Regions from separate parts of the Homo sapiens genome. Here region 1 is linked to region 2. Evidence: promoter capture Hi-C in human tissues and cell types (Jung and others, 2019). All regions are on one chromosome and are shown on one strand. Each heading gives the region's core, a stretch centred on a gene start or on the middle of the fragment in contact. The rest is flanking DNA. Distances are from core to core; before and after follow the strand shown. Region 1 holds the start of ZNF256 (zinc finger protein 256). Region 2 holds the start of ZNF587 (zinc finger protein 587).

The links. Contacts are between HindIII fragments. The study calls those that stand out against the background at their distance.
Region 1: the fragment with the promoter of ZNF256 here is called in contact with the fragment with the promoter of ZNF587 in region 2 in 1 of the 25 tissues and cell types used here (stomach).

The regions. Positions count from the first base shown.
Region 1 is chr19:57,945,913-57,952,959 of GRCh38, forward strand. ZNF256 (zinc finger protein 256) reads right to left here and starts at 1,794. Exons shown (of 3, transcript NM_005773.3): 1 at 1,530-1,794. The coding sequence starts at 1,562. RefSeq lists enhancers at 1,203-1,282, 1,773-1,872, 1,943-2,032. The HindIII fragment of the contact is 18,689 bases long and covers 1-7,047 here.
Region 2 is chr19:57,847,138-57,853,886 of GRCh38, forward strand. ZNF587 (zinc finger protein 587) reads left to right here and starts at 2,722. Exons shown (of 3, transcript NM_032828.4): 1 at 2,722-2,934. The coding sequence starts at 2,902. It overlaps LOC124904782 (a long non-coding RNA gene), which reads right to left. Exons shown (of 2, transcript XR_007067358.1): 2 at 3,178-3,424. RefSeq lists enhancers at 2,320-2,429, 2,500-2,559, 2,730-2,969, 3,020-3,109, 3,164-4,363. The HindIII fragment of the contact is 32,917 bases long and covers 1-6,749 here.

The DNA of each region.
Region 1 (7,047 bases), core at 544-3,043, 98 kb after region 2:
GACACTAACTTAATCTTCCAGCCTGAATGAAACACCCAGGCCCCATCAAGTTATCACAAAATCCTGGATACCCATAAAGTGGTGAATAAGCACGAGTTTTGGCCTGAGTGTCCTATGCGTTTGCATCCATCTCATGTCCATTCTTCTCTTGGGAGCCGTGGCCACTGCCAAACTACACTGTCTTTTACATACCTTGCCTTCATGACCACTTACTCTATCATCATCCTCCCAGTCTTGGCCCACTAACAGCTTTACAACCAAAACCTGGAGCTTGCCCCGCCTAACTGTGACCCACAGCTCACTAACCTTGGTGCGCACAACAGCCACATCTTGAATATCTGCACCCTGAACCACTCCCTAGATTTCAAGACCGGCACGTTCATCTGCCCACTTAACGCCTCCATTTAGTAGGCTCTGAAAGATCTGACTCTTAGCATGGCATAAACAAACCTGATATCCCTAGTGAATATTACTCCTATTGCCAATTTGTTCATCTTAGTTGATGAAACTTCTTTCCCTACAGCTGCTAATACCAAAAACCCTGGAGTCTTCTCTGAACCCTCTGTTTCACTCCCTCACCACCTACATTATGTAATTTAGTTGTCCCTTTTGAAACCACACATCCGGAATCTAACCACATCTCCTAAATCACGATCCTGGGCCAGTAACCCTCACTTGGACTAGTCTACCCTGATTTTCCTTCCTCCTCCCTCAACCCCCCAGTTTGTGCCCCACTGTGCACACAGATGAAGCCTGTGAAGACCTTGGTAAATTACCTCTTTTTTCTGATTCAAACTTGCTATTACCTCCTGAAAACACACTCAACTTCTCAGGCAGCCACTGCAGTCCTGACGCCTATCCTCCTGTTCTTTGCTTCCCACCAGAAAGCAAGGAGACTTGTGGCTTCATAAATGCACCCAGCTCCGTACTGCACCTAAGCATTTGCACATCTTGTACCTTTCTGGAAAAACTTTCCACACCCGTTCACATGGCTGCCAGAAATTGGAACAACTCTATATACCGGCTAACATGGACATAGGACCCTGGGCTTGGGGTTCACCCAAGGTCTTCAGAACTAAGGGCTGGGGGAATGGCACTCCACAACCCAGAGAACCTGTGGGTGGGAGTTAGGGCTAGTGAGAGACTGGGAAACCCTCCCCTTCCTGGCGTAGATTTCATAACCCTTTACAGCCAAGGGAAACGTAGAAAGAGCCAGGCCTCAGAGAAGAGCATCTATGGCGGTATTAGATGGGCTCAAGCCACCCCGTAGCCCCATGCCTGGCCTTGGAGCCGGGTGCCCTCGCAATGGCTGTGTCACCTCTGTGCCCCAGGGCTCAGTGGCGCCTCTCATCAGGGGCTCCTTGCCAGTCGCGCCCTCCCTTCCCTAGCACACCAGGTGTTGGAAACGGGAGCCCCTCCGGCGAGCCCCCGTGTCCTGTCCTGGGCAGCAGGGCCGCGAGCAAGCGCCCTCGGGGGTGCTAGGACTAGCGTGGGGAGGGCGGGGAAGGCCCAGAGGACGCGGCACATACCTGGGCCGGGGCCGTCAGCTCGGCCGCCGCCATCTGACTCTGTGAGCGGAGCGGGGCCAGAGAGGATGTCCTTATTCCGGGCCGGGCCTGGGTACCCTGGGCGCCGCCGAGCCTCAGCCACGCCTCTGTGCAGCGGGGAAGACTCCTCTCGCGCCTTCTCAGTCAGTCACGGATGATGCTGACCCAGCGCTCCGGGGCTTTCTACCAAGTAATCAGTCCAGACAAATGCCAAAACGACCGCCACAAGGAGGACAACGGAAGTCCCGCCGCGACCGCGCGTGCGCTTACGGAAACACCACCTTTCGGAGGCCTCATTGGCTGAAGGTCGCCGTCGCCCAACGCAGGCCATTCTGGGTAATGTTCCCACAGGCGCACGGCGGGAGAGTGAGGGTCGCCTCCACCTCCTTCCGGAAGTAAAGGCCAAACCCCTGTAGGGGGCGCTGGGAAATGGACACTCCAGGTTGGGGCGGAGGCGAGGCTTCGTTCTTTCTTAAAGGAGACGTACCCAGGTTTCTACCGATTGCTGTCTGCCAGTGTTTGTTTGGAGACGTGTCATTTCATGTGTTCCCAGAGGCACATATCCAGATGCACATATTATTACATACAGTCAGTCAGTCACAAAATATATCCACTGGTTGAGAAAGCAAATAAATATGACTATGTTGCGGCCGGGCGCGGTGGCTCACGCCTGTAATTCCAGCACTTTGGGAGGTCGAGGCGGGCGGATCACGAGGTCAGGAGATCGAGACCATCCTGGCTAACTCAGCGAAACCCCGTCTCTAAAATACAAAAAATACCACAAAAAAAAAAAAAAAAAGAAAAATTAGCTGGGTGTGGTGGCGGGCGCCTGTAGTCCCCAGCTACTCCGGAGGCTGAGGCAGGAAAATAGCTTGAACCCGGGAGGCAGAGCTTGCAGTGAGCCGAGATCGCGCCACTGCACTCCAGCCTGGGGGAAAGAGCGAGCCACTGTCTCAAAAAAAAAAAAAAAAAAAAAAAAAAAAAAAGACTATGTTGCAATTCAAACGCATGCACTCAAGCACTGGAGTCAGTTTTCTCAGTCTCTGTATGTTTGATTAGGGACAAGAAAAAAAACACTCCACACAGGTTCATGACAAAGAGGATGAAGGTGGGATGCGGAGGCACCCTGCAGCAGCAGGACATAAGTAGATCCCTGTCTCTGGGTCCCTCTCGTGCCTGTGTAGTCAAACATTGTGTCCAATTCACTAAGCAACACTTGCATGAATCTAATCTCACTTTCTCCATGCCTTTATATTCACTTCTTTTTAATAATTTGACATCAAGCTCAGAAAGAGAACAACAAAAGGAATGGTATTTTGAAAAGGCATGATGGCTAGCTAGAGCATTAACAGGTGGAACAAAGGGTGCTCTGAATCCCAAATGTAGGGTGTATCTTAAATTCAAGATCTCTTCTCAACGCTGAAATGATTATCTTTGCCCCCATTAGTTACGCTCTTGTTGCCCAGGCTGGAGTGCAATGGTGCGATCTCGGCTCACCACAACCTCTGTCTCCCGGGTTCAAGCGATTCTCCTGCCTCAGCTTCCCAAGTAGCTGGAATTACAGGCGCCCGCCACCGTACCCGGCTAATCTTTTTTTTTTTTTTTTTTTTTTGTATTTGTATTTTTAGTAGAGACGGAGTTTCGCCATATTGGCCAGGCTGGTCTCGAACTCCTGACCTCAGGTGATCCACCCACCTCGGCCTCCCAAAGTGCTGGGATTACAGGCGTGAGCCACTGTGCCCGGCCCTTTGCCCCCATTATTATAGGGCTGTTCTGCATAAAAAATTGATACGATATCAGAAAAAGAATTGTAAAATACAAATTACAGAAAGCTACTAATAATGGGTGTCGCTTCGCCAGCCAGAAACCTCTGTGGTCGCGCCTCTGCTTGAGTTTTGCTCACACCCGCTGGGCTTGTTCCACCCACTCGGCCCAGCAGGCTGCACCTGGATCCCACACCTACCAAGGGCGAGCCAGGCGCGGAGCCGCAAGGGGTGTGTGAGCGAGCAAGTGAAGGGTCCAGCCAGTGCACACAGCCAGGCACGCTGGCTGCTGCGGCGGGGCGGGCAGCTCCAGGCGCTGGCACAGGCGCCGGCTCCTTGCAAGTCTGCGACTGGACCAGACATACTGCAGGCGGCTTCTGCTGCAGGCACCAGCATCTAGACGAGGGAAAAATGGTGGCGCCGGAAAGCTCGGAGACACCAAGAACAGCAGAACCCCAAAGAGGGTGTTGCAGCATGTCACAGCCCTGGCTCCGGAGTCTCGAGGCCTGGGCTCCCGGAAGAGCCACAGCTCTTCTCTCCTTCCCGTTGCTTGCAGCCTGGCAAGCGGGGAGGTGTGTTTTGGGTGGGGTGTGTTTTCAGCTTGTTTGTGATATAGCTCTTTCAGTCCCGCTGCCCTGCTCTGGCTCGCTGCTGCTTCCCATCGTGGGGGGCGGCCACCCAGTGCTGGCTGAGGGCAGGAGGGCTATAGTGTTACAGCTCTGGCTCGGGGAATCCCAAAGTCTGGGCCTCCAGAAGAGTCGCCATTTTTCACTCATGCAGCCCAGAAGCATGGCTACTCAGCCAGGAATGTGTTACAGCCCCTTTCTCTCCTGCTGTTCGTTAGGTCCCAAGTTCTTGTCCCCCAAGTTCTTATCCCACGTCCAGGAAGAATGAGGTTATGCAGACAACTGGAGGGTGAGCAAGGCAGAGAAGGGTTTTATTGGACAACCCAACAGCCCTCAGGAAACCTGAAGGGAGTAGCTCACACCTGCATACAGATAGTCTCCGATGTCTGAGTCTGGCTGAGTCTACAGGTTTTTTATGGGCTCAGAATGGAGAAAGTGTGTGCTCATTGGTCCATGGGTGGTAGGAAGTGCATGCTGATTGGCCCATGGGCAGTCATGGGCGGGCCTGGGAAAAACACCATACCATTGGCCGAAAGGCGTCAAGGAATTTCTCTCTCTGGGTCACAGACTCCACCTGGAACTGGCAGCGTGGCCTCCAGGCTTCAGGCCATTCGTGGCTTGAAGGTGGGGTTTCACAGAAAACCCACCCCTTCCCACGTAGGAACCTGTCTGCCTTTCATGGCCATCAACATGCTGTCCATGACGCCCAGGCTGTCCATGCTGAAGGTTGCCCGCAGGCCTGCCCCGAGCCACTCTCAGCCGCCCCCCTCCCACCACCCGGCCTCCTTCCCATGCTTCTTGGTGCCCAAAGTTTCAGCCTCAAAAGCAGTTTCTGGAGGAAATCGAGATGGTGGGGGGCTGGCATGTCGTCACTGCCCCGAGGGCACACACATTTGGCTGGGTTGTGATAGCGCCCAGGTTTGGCTATCTTGACATGTCCACAACTTTGCTCTGCCGTGGAGCAGGTGCTGAGAGTGGGGAGAGGCCAGGGAGTGGGAGCAGGCACTTCTGGGCCTGTGGGAAAAGGGTGCTTCCCAGGTCCCCAAGAGTGCAGGGATGCCCTGTCTGGAGCCACGACTAGGTGGCTGCAGCTGCGCCTGGGAGCACAGGGCTCCCGTCCTGACAACTCGGTATGGCTCGAGGCTCCCACTGGGATCACCTGTTCCCAGTCCCCGTGGGCTCCACGGAGCATGCAGCCCTGGCCGTGCCTCCCCATTTGCAGCCGGCATCATCACAGCGGCCCCTCCAGATCAGCCACTGCTGCCATTATAATGACTATGTAGTCATTCAAAAATGGTGGCAGAATCGTGTTTGGGAAATATCGGATGGTGAAAAAAGTGAAGGTCTCACAGAACTCTTTTGTTTTGGTTTTTGTTTGTTTTTTGAGACGGAGTTTCGCTCAAAACGGAGTTTTTGAGTCCAAGGATGTGAACTTGGACTGGGAGGTGTGCAGGAGGGGTGCTGAGTACTAGGTCTGCGTGTCTTGTTCTGGTGGCTGTCTCAAGCCATGGTCCACCTGGAGTGTGGGCTAGCTGCATCTCAGTAATGGCCTGGTGGTTGACTAACTGCCTTGAAGTAATCTCTGGAATTTTGCAGATAGGTCCCTATGCCTACCAAGTCTGTCTCAAGATTATCCCCAGGAACTTCTAAGTAAGCACATAATTAGATACTAGCATACAATTAGACAAATGTGCATGGTCTAAGGGAGTGTATGGTGAGAAGCGGTGGACATGGTATTTCAAAGAAAGTACATTTCAAGGCTGTATTTTAAGACTAATGAGAAGAAAAGATTCTGCAGTAAGGTTCAAGGTTATATCACAAGACTAGGGAAAAATGAGAAAAAGGAAAAAAACTTTTTCAGGCCAGGCTGTTCAGTTACAAAACTAGTTTTAGAGTTGCAGTGTGTCCTGTCAGCAGCCATTAAATAAAACTTGTTTCAAGTTACAGCAGGGAGTTTCAGCAGCCAGGCTTCTGGAGAATTACATTTTTGGATCAGGGTTATATGCCCTGAGTGCTTTTTTTCCCACAGCTCTTTCAACTCTGTTTTAGGTGGGTATGACAAGAATGACCCAATTCATATGATCAACTTTCACACAATTAATAGGGATCCCTTCTAAATTTGCTAAATCTGCAGGATTTTTGAGTTTCGACTGGGGGGAAAACCCACCAAATCTCAAATCAATACATGTTTATTTTCCTAATACAAAACAAAATGTTGTTTTCTATTATTTATGTACTATCATAAAGTAGGATGTGAAAAATCTTTGTCAGAGACATGGAGGAAATTTCAATGTGTATTAATAAGCAAAGAAGCCATTCTGAAAAGGCTACATAGTGTGATTCCAGCTCTATGACTTTCTTTTCTTTTCATTCTTTTTTTTTTTTTTTTTTTTTTTTGAGACAGGGTCTCACTCTGTCACCCAGGCTGGAGTGCAGTGGTGCAGTCAAAGCTCAGTACAACCTCAACCACCTGAGCTCAAGCGATCCTTCCATCTCAGCCTCCAGAGTAGCTGGGACTACAGGTGCACACTATGCCTGGCTAAGTTTTGTATTTTTTTTGTAGAGATGGGGGTCTATGTTGCCCAGGCTGGTCTCAAACTCCTGAGTTCAAGTGATCTGCCCACCTCAGCCTCCCAAAGTGCTGGGATTACAGGTGTGAGCCACTGTGCCTGACCAAGCAGGTGTATTAGTTTTCTACTCTTGTGTAATAAGTTACCGCAAAGCTATTGGTTTAAAACAATACCCACTTATTATCTCACAATTGCCTAAAGATAGCTTAGCCGAGTATCTTGGTCTTCTGAGAGCCTGACTCTCACAAGGCTATAATCAAGGTGTTGACCAAGCCTGCAATTTCTTCCAAGGCTCGGAGCCTTCTTTCAAACTCACATAGTTGTTGGCAAAATTCAGTGTCTTGTTGCAAGAATAAGGTTCCTGCTTTTTTTTTTTTTTTTTTTTGAGATGGAGTTTTGCTCTTGTTGCCCAGGCTGGAGTGCAATGGGGCGATCTCTGCTCACTGCAACCTCCGCCTCCTGGGTTCAAGACATTCTCCTGCTTCAGCCTCCTGAGTAGCTGGGATTACAGGCATGCACCACCAAGCCTGGCTAATTTTTG
Region 2 (6,749 bases), core at 1,472-3,971:
GCCTTTTTAACCTGTGCTTTAATGGTGAAAGTTGTAGCGACTGATGTGTGTACCACAATGGCATTGGCTAAGTTGCTCGTCCTTTGAGATAGATGTCAATGTGATTAAAGAAATTGAGTACACCTTAGCATATGAATTAAGAAACATATTGACATAGTGATCCTCATAGTGACATAGATCAGCAGGACTTGTGTTCTGAGCACTGGTCATGACCCTGCTCATGATGAAACAGGATCTGGTCAAAACAGGATGCACTAAAGAAACCAGCTGAAAGCAGTAAAACTAAGATGGCAAGAATATGAACTCTAGTTACCCTCATTGCCTCACTGCTCATTATATGCTCATTATAATGTATTAGCATGCTAAAAGACACTCCCACCAGCACCATGGCCGTTTACAAATGCTATGGCAATGCCCAGAAGCTACCTCATGTAGTTTAAAAGAGAAGGAACCCCTGGTTCTGGGAACTCCCCACTCTTTTTCTAGAAAATTCATGAATAACCCACCTCTTATTTAGCACATAATTAAGGAGTAGCTATAAATATAGCTAGCCAACAATCCACGGGTGCTACTTTGCCTGTGGAGTAGCCCTGCTCTGTCTGTGGAGCAGCCATTTTCCTGTTCTCTTGCTCTCATAAACTTGCTTTGCCTTCACTTTACACTCTTGGCTTGCTCTTGAATTATTTCCTTTATGAAGCCAGGAACCCTCCTGGATTGAGCCCCAATTTTGGGATTTGCTAGCATCACTAGAGCAATTTTCTGTGGGAACCAGTGGCCAACTGCCAGCTTCACTACCTGCTTCAGGGTGTACCAACATCCGTCTATTTCCCTGTCATTAGATCTTTATTATTATTTTATTTTTTTGAGACGGAGTCTAGCTCTGTCGCCAGGCTGGAGTGCAGTCATGCGATCTCAGCTCATTGCAACCTCTGCCTCCAGAGTTCAGGCGATTCTCCTGCCTCAGCCTCCCGAGTAGCTGGGACTACAGGTGTCTGCCACCATGCCCAGCAATTTTTTTAACATGGGTTTTGCTGTGTTAGCCAGGATGGTCTTGATCTCCTGACTTCATGATCTGTCCACCTCGGCCTCCCAAAGTGCTGGGATTACAGGCGTGAGCAACCGTGCCCGGCTAATTTTTTTATTTTTATTAGAGATGGGGTTTCACCATATTGGTCAGGCTGGTCTCGAACTCCTGACCTCATGATCCACCTGACTCAGCCTCCCAAAGTGTTGGGATTATAGGCATGAGCCACTGCACCCAGCAATTTATTTATTTTTTATTTTTTATTTTTTTTGAGACAGAGTCTCACTCCTGTTGCCCAGGCTGGAGTGCAATGGCATGATCTCGACTCATCGCAACCTCCACCTCCAGGGTTCAAGTAATTCTCCTACCTCAGCCTCCCGAGTAGCTGGAATTGGAGGCATGCAGCACCATGCCTGGAAAATTTTGTACTTTCAGTAGAGACACGGTTTCTCCATGTTGGCCAGGCTGGTCTCGAACTCCCGACCTCAGGTGATCCACCTGCCTTGGCCTCCCAAAGTGCTGGGATTACAGGTGTGAGCCACCATGTCTGGCCTTTATTTTTATTTTTTGTGGGTATATAGTAGTGTATATATTTGTAGATTACATTAGATATTTTGATGTAGCCATGCCATATGTGATAATCACATAGGGTAAATGGGGTCTCAGTCACCTCAACATTTATCCTCTGTATTATAAACAGTCCAGTTATACTCTTTTAGTTATTTTTAAATATATAATTAAATTATTTTGACTATAGCCACCCTGTTATGGTAGCAAATATTAGGTCTTATTCATTTTTGCTCACTGTTTTTTGTACCCATCCTGTCATCATGTCTTATGGAGAATTTTCTTTTGTTCCCAACAAAACAATGAAACTCGCAAAACTGACTGTAATGATTCAGTCTACGTGAATTTAAAGAGCAATCAATACTTAATGTTCTCAGCTCTGAGTGCACACATTGTAAGTCTGAATGATGCCAATGATATGGCCACTTAGATAAGTAAAGTTTGGGAGCATCTCAAATAGTATTTTTATTCTCTGGGTGCAGGATGAGCTTCCTAGAGTCTGATGTGATACCTATTTGATGCTTTTACAAAGAATCAATAATCTTCCTCCTTTGAGGTGTGAGCAGGGCTTTCCAGCAGCCCTCAGAATGTAACATGGTCTGCATTCGGTTTGCTCTTGGAGGATACCACCATTGTTGGCTGAGAGCTCTGGGAAGTACTTTACCCAGAAGGCGCTAGTTGCAAGGCCCAGGATGAGGGATTTCTGGGCATGCTTGTCAGGCCAGGGAGTACTGGGTTGGGACTGAGAAGGCACAAGAGGAGTAGTCATCTCTGCTCCCAAGTGGCAGGTCTGAGGCTCATAGGCACTGGCTGGGGTGATGCCTGCTCCACCCACAGTTGATGGCAGCAGCCACACTGAGGGACCTAGCTCAGGTAAATGCTGTGTATTACAGGCTTCACCCCAGCTAGAGTAATACAGGTAGAGGAACCAATAGGTACAAAGGCTTGGAGGTGCATCTGAGCCATGAACATTTCAGAACCTGGTAACCATGTTGTGTCATGGAAAGTGGGGAACTACATTACCCAGAAAGCTCTGCTTTAAACGACAGCCGGTCAGAGCCAGTGAGCACTCGGAAAGAAGGCATTTCCACGTGTGCACGTAACGTAAGGCCGAGACTTCCGGGGTCTCTAGTAGCGGCTGTGTATCGGCGATGCGGGTGTTTCCCCAGTTTGTGGCCCCTGAGTGCTGGGTGGGACCGCGGTGACTGAACCTAGAAGGTGGAGAGGAATCGTCCTCGGTGCCCAGAGGCGGCTCTGCAGCCCCGTGACGGCGACCACTGCTCCCGGGCCGTGCTTCCCCAAGTAGTCCGATGGCAGCGGCTGTGCCGAGGCGCCCAACTCAGGTAATTGTGGTGCCTTCTGTGCCCTCAGGTCACCCCATCGTCACCCAGGTCCTAAACCAGCGAGGGAGCGGCTCCTGCTCGTGGGTCTGTAGCCGGTACCCGGCGTAGGAACACTGAGGCGCTCACAGGAGGCCTCTCCTTGTAACCGTCCAGTGGGTTCACGTTGCCAGCTGCCTAGACAGAGCCGATTTATGAAGACTGGGGAATTGCGATGGAGAAATAGTAATTCACGCAGAGCCGTCCTGCTGTTCGGGAGACAGGAGTTTTATTATTCAAATCAGTCTCCCTGAGCATTCTGGGATCAGAGTTTTCAAAATTTGGCGGGTAGGGGCTTGGGAAGTGGGGAGTGCTGATCAGTCTGGTTGGAGATGGATTCATAGGGGGTTAAAGTGAGTTTTTCATGCTGTTTTCTGTTCTGGGTGGGATGGCAGAACTGATTGACCCAGATTACCGGTCTGTGTGTTGTCCGCTGATCCATCCAGTGCAGGATCTGCAAAATGCCCCAAGCACTGATCTTAGATATTGGGGAAACCAGCCCCACACCACCCAGCAGATACCCCGAGTCCTGCGGAGACAAAGGAGTTAGAAAGAGACAGAATACGCATTTAAAAGGCGGGTCCAGGTGGCCAGAGCATTGGAGGCTTCCTGGCGGCCCAGAGCTCTTGGGCTCCACCCAGTTTATTGGTTTACAAGCTCTTTGTTCTTATGGCTGATTGGAGGGGGAGGAAGCGATCAGGAAAAGGATTAATCAGTAAAGGAGAACTCGTGAGTCATTCCATAAGATGTAAAGCACTGGCCGTTTCTGTGAATTTCCTTGAACAAAGGCGTGTGTCTAAACTACTTAAGATCTTTAACTTAACTGAAACGGGTGGCTGCGGGTTTCAGGAGGAGCCAAGATGTTTGATTATGCTCCACTGCTTCAAGGGAGTGTGATCTCCCTGAGCAACCCATGGAATGCTGCTGAAGAGTTATGCTCTCGGGGCATAAAGACATGAAGGCAATAAGGAGACTTTTCTCCTCAGAGGCCGCCCATGGCTTCCCATGGGTGTCTCACACAGGGGAGACCAACTCAACTAGCACCCCAGAAACTCACATTAGGTTTTACAATAGTAAGGTTATCTTCAGGAGCAACTTGGGGAGGTTCAGACTCTTGGAGCCAGAAGCTGCATGACCCCTAAACCGTAATTTCTATTCTTGTAGCTAATTTGTTAGTCCTGCAAAGACAGGCTGGTCCCCAGGCAAGAAAGGGGTCTTTTCAGGAAAGGGCTATTATCAATTTTGTTTCAGAGTGAAACCATGAACTGAATTCTTTTCCAAAGTTAATTCAGCCTATGCCCAGGAATGAAAAAAGACGGCTGAAAGGTTGGAAGCAAGATGGAGTCGGTTAGGTCTGATTTCTTTCACTGTCATAATTTCGTCAGTTATAATTTTGCAAAGTCGGTTTCACCTGTTTCTGACACCAGTGGGATGCAGTGGGGAGAGTGACAGGCACAGGTAGGGGTGCAGGCAATGGCCTGCAGATGGACAGAGCTGGAAGGATGGAACCTGGGGTTCACAGGCATCTGTCAGGAACAACGTGTGAGATGGAGCTCTTCCTGGTAGAGCAAGCAGGCCAGGGGCTGTGCATTCATCATGAGGATTCTAGAAGCCATGGAGAGTTTTGAAGAAAGGAGGGACATGATCCAAATCCAGGCTTTTAAGAAGTTTCCCAAAGGCCAATCAAAGGAAGAACATCATAGAGAGAGAGGATGAGGACTTTGGGGCCTTGGGAGGTTGAATCCGTTTTGTAGATCACATAGATGGTAGAGATGACATTTTGCACTGAGAAAAGCAGGTCAGACAACCAGCCTTAGGGTTACCTGGTTCCAGGGACAAGAAAGGGTTCAGGGAGTCCTGAGCTTATCAAATCCTGTGACATGTTTGTAATGTCTGCCTTTCCCCTCAGGCACTCCTGGCTGCAGAAGCACTTAGGGAACCCACACAGGGAAGTGGAGGGTGTTCCATTCCCTCATTGGTCCTGACGCCATCTACAGGTTCTCTAGCTTGTGGTGTCCTGGGACTCTTAAGTGCCATTTTTTTCAGTCCTTTGATCCGAGGACCCTGGAGAATCTCTGAAGCCAGGATACCAAGTCCATGACAGGTTATATGGAGGTATTCCCATTTCTGTCAACCAATGTAAACACCCTTGTAAGATTAACCCAGGATTTGCTACCAGGTTGTGAAATGCTTAGAGATAAAACGGATCAAAGTCAGGAGGTGATATTACCACAGTTCTACCTGGCTACAGGCTTCATCTGGCTGGACCTTGTTGCATAGACTGTGGGTTGAGGGAAGAGGAAGAAAGGTCAGAGATAAGGCTCCTGCCATAATCCAGGTGAGGGTTAATGGATCAGATAAGTGGTAAATCACATGGGTCTGGATTCAGGATTCACTTTTTGTAAAGAGACAGCTAGGTTTTCTTTTTTTTTTCTTAACGTGGAATTTCAGTCTTGTTGCCCAGGCTGGAGTGCAATGGCGCAATCTTGGGCTCACTGGAGCCTCTGCCTCCCAGGTTCAAGCAATTCTCCTGCCTCAGCATTCAAGGTAGCTGGCATTACAGGCACCCACCATCATGCCCAGCTAATTTTTGTATTTTTAGTAGAGACGAGGTTTTACCATGTTGGCCAGGCTGGTCTCGAACTCCTGACCTCAAGTGATCGTCACATCTCGGCCTCCCAAAGTGCTGGGATTATAGGCATGGACCAATGCGCCCAGCCGAGACAGCTAGGCTTTTTTTTTTTTTTTTTTTTTTTTTTTTTTGAGACGGAGTTTCACTCTCTTGTCCAGCCTGGAGTCTAGTGGCACAATCTCAGCCCACTGCAACCTTCACCTCCTGGGCTCAAGTGATTCTCCTGCCTCAGCCTCCTGAGTAGCTGGGATTACAGGCATGTACCACCACACTCGGCTAATTTTTCTATTTTTAGTAAAGTCGGGGTTTCACCATGTTGGCCAGGCTAGTCTCAAACTCCTGACCTCAGGAGATTCGCTGGCCTCTGCCTCCCCAAGTGCTGGGATTATAGGCACGAGCCACCATGCCTTGCAGACAGCTAGATTTTCTAATGTGGATGATAGGAGCATGAAAGAGGAATCGGGCATGAGCCCAAGGTTTTTGATCTTAGCAGCTGTAACCATGCACACTGCTTCAGCTGAGATGACGTTGGTATTGACATAATATTCACTGTGGATATCCAGAGGGTTGTTTTGGCCATATGAAGAATCAGAGACCAATAAGTGGTGGCATCAAATCGATAACTAGACATACTGGATGGGGTATCTGGGAGGGTGTTGATACTGGAGACATCCAATATATGAAAGCTAATGAGTGAACTATGATTAGTTATGGGTCCATTTAGGAGGACATGCTTCAGATTATGGTGGTAAATCTTTTCAGGGGGCAGAAAGGTGTGATTACAGGCTGAGGACTGGATCTCTTACTTACGTCCTCAATTGATGTTATTGGGCTTCCTAAACACCTGAGAGGGTGTGAGTGACCATCATAACAGGACATTTAATACAGTAGAGTTTGGAAGGGGACATAGACATCCAAAGAGATAATAGAGAAGAGATAGATGCATGCAGAAGCACAGGAGTAATTCAGGGAAGATGACACTTAGGCCTGAGTTGGTGCCAAAGTTGTAACTTTTTTGTTTTTTTTTTTTTTTCAGATGGAGTTTCGCTCTTGTTGCCCAAGCTGGAGTGCAATGGTGCCATCTCGGCTCACTGCAACCTCCACCTCCTGGGTTCAAGCAATTCTCCTGCCTCAGCCTCCCAAGTAG